Regions from separate parts of the Homo sapiens genome. Here region 2 is linked to region 1. The links are contacts of gene promoters, found by promoter capture Hi-C in blood cells and fetal thymus (Javierre and others, 2016). All regions are on one chromosome and are shown on one strand. The core of a region is centred on a gene start or on the middle of the fragment in contact, and the rest is flanking DNA. Distances in the headings are between cores, read along the strand shown.

The links. Contacts are between HindIII fragments. The CHiCAGO score rates a contact against its expected background, and 5 or more counts as called.
Region 2: a contact is called between a fragment that was not itself captured here and the fragment with the promoter of KDM3A in region 1, in 1 of 17 cell types (non-activated CD4 T cells). The highest score is 5.3, in non-activated CD4 T cells.

The regions. Positions count from the first base shown.
Region 1 is chr2:86,440,078-86,442,777 of GRCh38, forward strand. KDM3A (lysine demethylase 3A) reads left to right here and starts at 1,294. Exons shown (of 26, transcript NM_018433.6): 1 at 1,294-1,367; 2 at 1,941-2,156. The coding sequence starts at 1,971. RefSeq lists enhancers at 363-906, 728-927, 1,008-1,087, 2,078-2,137 and silencers at 1,218-1,607, 1,828-1,877. The HindIII fragment of the contact is 3,261 bases long and covers 1-2,700 here.
Region 2 is chr2:85,888,908-85,891,607 of GRCh38, forward strand. It overlaps ST3GAL5 (ST3 beta-galactoside alpha-2,3-sialyltransferase 5), which reads right to left and starts at 83. Exons shown (of 7, transcript NM_003896.4): 1 at 1-83. ST3GAL5-AS1 (ST3GAL5 antisense RNA 1) reads left to right here and starts at 373. Exons shown (of 3, transcript NR_110569.1): 1 at 373-896; 2 at 2,269-2,298. RefSeq lists a silencer at 1-484. The HindIII fragment of the contact is 1,799 bases long and covers 386-2,184 here.

The sequences.
Region 1 (2,700 bases), core at 44-2,543:
TGCTTATCTCGTTCCCATTTCTGCCTTCTTTCAGCTGGATAGGTTTTTTCTTCTCATTTAGCAGCCCCCTTCCTTTAAATGGTCTACAGATTATAAATCCAATTTAATTCTTGTTACTAACTTTAAAAACTTAAAATCACATTCAGAATATGTATATTGAAAATCAACATCCAGAGTTGATTTGCATCTATAATCCCTTATATGTTTCCAAACATTCTCTGATTATACGTTTCCACGCTTGTAAAATGGGAGGCATGAGTTCTTCTTAAGGATTAAATGTGATGTAATGTCAAACACTAGCCTTTATGAACATATCTTCAATTTCTTCATTCCATTTCTTTTTCATTCAATCAAAATACTTCAGGTCCAGAGCACACAATCACCTCTAAACTCCTTTGTCCTTCAAAGTCACCTTCTCTTTCATCTCTTCCATCATTCATTATGGCCTTCAACTACTTTAAATTTCTTTGTAAGTATCTGAATACCTTCTCAATCCCACTTTGGAGAAAAAAAAATCTCATTATACATTGTATTTAAAGGTCTCTTTTGCTCTAAATTTAATGAACGTCATTATCCAGTAACTCCACGCCTTTCTTCATTTATCCTTCAAAATGGCGGACTTTAGACGTTCCACGATCAGTACCACGTGCGCCTGCGCCTCCCGCAGCCATTTCGCCCAGCAGCCTAAGCTCGGCGAGGCGCCTGCGCACGAGCCTCCAGAGCACTATCGCTCCTCCCTCTAGCTGAGTACGCCTGAAACCGCACGTTCTCTTCCCTGCCCTCCCCCGCTAACCCTGCACCGCCCTCACCCTTTCCTGTGAGATTCTTCCGCCAAGTGGAAGGCTCATCTTCGGTCGACAGCCTACGCGGTTGAAGAACAATCCAGTAGGCACTTATAGCTCAGGGTCTCGCCATTCAGTCTTATCTATGCGCCACAGCAATTTTCCTCCGGGCCCCAAAGTTGATAACCGATTTCGCGGGACTTTTTTTTTGCATACTGTGAGGCAACAAATGGAAAGAATAGGCCTATGGCGGAGGGATCACTCGCTTATTCTCTGTGTACTTTAACCTAATGGGGGTCGCCCGGGAGTCGGAAGGGGGAGGGGAAAGGGAGGAGGCAGCCAAGGAATTGTTTTTTTCTCTGGCCCCGCCCTCGCCCGGGGGGCCAATGGTGATGATCTGTTTCCCCCGGAGCCTCGCCCAGCTCCTGTGTTTCAGCCAATGAGCGGCGGAAGCGGCTCCGAGGGGGGCGGGTCCGGGAGGCTGTGCGTGTCTTGTGAGAGCTCTTGAACCAAGTCAGCGCTGGAGTCGGCTAGGCGGCTGGAAACGGCGGCTGCCGCCGGTGACTCAGGGAGGCGGGAGGCGGGGTAAGAGCGCCGCGGCCTCGGCTGCGGGGAGAGGGGAGAGAAAGGTGAAAGCGCCGAGCGCGCGGCCCCGTCGCCCGTTGGCAGCGGCGCAGGCCCGGGAGACGGGCGCCCGGGGTTCGGGGCCGGGGAGCTGGGCGCCGGGGCGGGGCGGCGGGGCAAGTGCGGAATCGCGGGCTCGCCCACCCTCCCCCGTGGGGCCGCCCGGGGCGGGGACCCAGCCGCCCGGGACCGGCTCTCTGCACCAGGGGCCTTTTCTTTTCGGGGCTGGGGGCTGAGCACTTTCAAATCCACTCGAGCCGCAGATAATTTTTCCCTCACTCCCTCTGCGGTTGCGTTTGAGCTGTTAGAAAAGCCAAACTTGGGAGAGCGAGGGTCACGCGGCGCTGGGGCCCGGGTGTGTGGCGGGGGAGGGCGGCGGGGGGCGGGAGGGCGCAGGAGGGGGGCTCGGTGCGGGTCCGCCCGGGGCCGCGTCCTCGCGCGGGTTCGGCGCCCTCCGCCCGCCCTCCCTGCTGTCTCCGCCCGGCCCCCTCCCACCGGCCGCCCCCGTCGCATTTTGTTTTTGTGTTTTTGCAGGGAGGAGCTCTTCCTGCAGGCGTGGAAACCATGGTGCTCACGCTCGGAGAAAGTTGGCCGGTATTGGTGGGGAGGAGGTTTCTCAGTCTGTCCGCAGCCGACGGCAGCGATGGCAGCCACGACAGCTGGGACGTGGAGCGCGTCGCCGAGTGGCCCTGGCTCTCCGGGACCATTCGAGCTGTTTCCCACACCGACGTTACCAAGAAGGATCTGAAGGTACAGGCGGCTCCGGGCCTCTGCCACCGGACGTTTCGCAGTTACCGTGGTAACGCGACCATCGGTTCCCTCCTTCCGTTTTCTGAAAACGGAGACCAGAAAGTTGGCATATGATCTGAAGGTGCAGGAAGCTAGATCTTGAAAGTCTTTGGAATGGTTGTATAGAGCCGAGTTGTGTTTGGCCCACAGCTCCTGGCTGCCTGGCTTTAATAATGGGCTTAGGGTTGTTCAGACACGCTTCATTAATGCCGGTGCTGTGTCCCACCAGGACTGTCTCATCTTTACTGCAGAGGAGGAGGAGTATTTTTGTTAGCGTTAGGTAGGGCCTGTAAGTGACGTTTGGAGTCATTAAGAATTGAAGGTTAGTGCTTGGAAGTACTTTCAGCTGGTTTTGTTTGTTTGTTCCTGTTAATTTATTCACTCAACTTTTAAAAAAACTTTCAGACTTGTTAAAAATGAAGTGAGTGTAGAGGGAGGAGCTTAAGTTCTGTTTGGCGTATTAGGATGGGTGTTTGTCCGTATATGGTGGGTCAGGGCAGGAGTG
Region 2 (2,700 bases), core at 35-2,534, 550 kb before region 1:
TAATGAGGGGGCGCCGGCCGGCCGCCAGCCCGGTACCCCGCGCCCCCACCCGCCCCCAGCGCCGCTCTCGCGCCCATTCAGCTGGGGGCCGCCGCTCCCCCGCTCAGATGCGGAGGAGGGGCGCGTGGGCGGGGTCTGACGTCACGAGGACGCGGACGGCCAATCGGAGAGCACGATGCCTCCGCGGCGGCCCCCGCCCCCGGGCGCGCGGCCAGTCAGCCCTGCGGTGCGGTGGGCATTGCCAGAGCAGGGCGCCCCCTGCAGGGACGCACCCGGGGCGGGGGCCAGGCTGGGGCGAGCCCCCCTTGGTTCTGGAGAGGAAATGACATACAGTTTGTGAAAGCATAAATATTCGTGAAAATAAGAAAATTCAGGAAGGAAACAAAGCTTAAGGCAGTGATTGATAGGTTATTTCTTGGACACAGCTGAACGTATACTGTGCGCCTGCAACTTTCCGGTGGTTTCGGACCGGACTTCAGTGAAGCCAGTGAAGTCGGTCGACTTGCAGAACTTCCTTTCAGAGGGGCGTACACAGCACCGCGGCCGTGTGCCTGTGATCTCCTTCTGAGTTTGAAAAAGAAGATCCTAGACACCGAGCCAAATATGTTTGCATAAACCGGGAGACTTGTGGCTCTATTTTGTAACAGCTTGGCGCAGGGCAGCTGGTTTGGAGATGTCTCTGTTCTTCCCTTGGTGGGGGTGCCGGAAAAAATGTGCTGCCTGGGCGATCGAGGTTGGGGCAAAAGCGTTGCAAAGGAAAAGGTGGGAGGACTCTACTTTCACATTTCCCAAAAGAGTTTTACCATAAGACTATTTCTGGATTGTTCTAACGTGAGGATATTGGGAGCATTTTGAAAATACTGGAGGAAAAGCTGTCACTGGGCGATTTAAATCCGGTAAGTTGGCCAAGGCAGAGCAGCTGCTGGGGTCAGCGACAGCTGACCCTTGCAGCTGAGTATCTTGCCCTCTTAATCTTGGAGATCAGCCCAAGGCCCATGTGTTACAGGAAAGGGGTCCCGATCTAGACCCCAAGAGAGGGTTCTTCGATCTCACGCAAGAAACAATTCAGAGTAAGTCCACAGTGCAAAGTAAAAGCAAGTTTATTAAGAAAGTAAAGTGGTGGCTGGGCACAGTGGCTCACGCGTAATCCCAGCACTTTGGGAGGCTGAGACGGACAGATCACCTGATGTCAGGAGTTCAAGACCAGCTGGCCAACATGGCAAAACCCCGTCTCTACTAGAAATACAAATATTGGCCGGGCGTGGTGGCGCAAGCCTGTTGTCTCAGCTACTCACGGGGCTGAGGCAGGAGAATCGCTTGAACCCGGGAGGCAGAGGCTACAGTGAGCCGAGATCGCCACTGCACTCCAGCAGGGCATTCCTGAAAATAAGAGGAGGGACATATCCAACTAAGGTACAATGCTTGTAATGCTTGTATATATGGGCAGATGTCTTCTGCTACAAGGGTTTGTGATAAAGGATTAATTTTCCCTAATTACTATATTTTGCAATAATCAATATTATTATTTTTAAAGCAAAATTAGGAATGCCTTTGTTCTCCAGATATCGGGATATCTGGACTCTCTCAAGTCTGGGTCTGTTTAGTAAGCATTATTAATTTGTTCTCTTAACCATAAACACCTAGAGGCTAGGAATGCCTAGCTTTCAGGAAATGCAGCCTAGCAAGTCCCAGCCTCATTTTTCTAGCCCTCACTCAAAATGGAGGCGCTCTGGTTTGAACACTTCTGACACATGTGCTTGATGCAACACTCTTTACCTCTCTTTGTCTCCCCTGTCCTTCCCCTTCTCTTCCAGATTCCCCTTGTCGGCAAAGCCAGGCGCTGATAGCGTTATGGCTGCCATGAGAGTCAGCAGTATCCCAGCTTCCAAGGATGGGTGTAAGGTGGGGGTGAGGAAGAAAAGGAACTTGAAGCTGCCTCCTGTCCCAGAATCACAAGACATCTGTTAAGCCCTTACTACCTCATTCACTCCACTCACATTAGGTTGACCCACTTGGGCAGCAAGACAAGCAGGCCTGCAAACTTCCTTTTCTTCATCAGCCACAGAGACATCCTCAGCTATTATTCTGGATTAAGGCAGAGATCTCCAAACAGCAGACTAAGATCAGCCTCTAGATCTCAAAGCCTTACTGTTATCTCTCCAAGTCAGTGGCTGATCTCAGAGAAGCTTCTGAATAGTGACTAGCAAAGAGTCACTCAGGCTACTTACAAATCCAGGACAGCAGCGTTTTTTTTTTTTTCTTTTTTAGAGACAGATTCACTCTGTCATCCAAGCTGGAGTGCAGTGGCACGATCTTGGCTCACTGCAACCTCCACCTCCTGGGCTCAAGCAATCCTCCTACCTCAGCCTCCCAAGTAGCTGGAACTACAGGTACCCAACACCATGCCAGGCTAATTTCTAATTTTTTGTAGAGACAGCAGTCTCCCTCTGTTGCCCAGGCTGGCCTCAAACTCCTAGGCTCAAGTGTTCCTCCTGCCTGGGCCTCCCAAAGTGCTGGGATCACAGATGTGAGCCACTGCATGCAGCCAAAACCAGTTATTTTTTGGCTGGGCATGGTGGCTCGCACCTGTGATCCCAGCACTTTGGGAAGCCGAGGTGGGCAGATTACTTGAGGTCAGGAGTTTGAGACCAGCCTGGACAACATGGTGAAACCCTGTCTCTGCTAAAAGTACAAAAAATT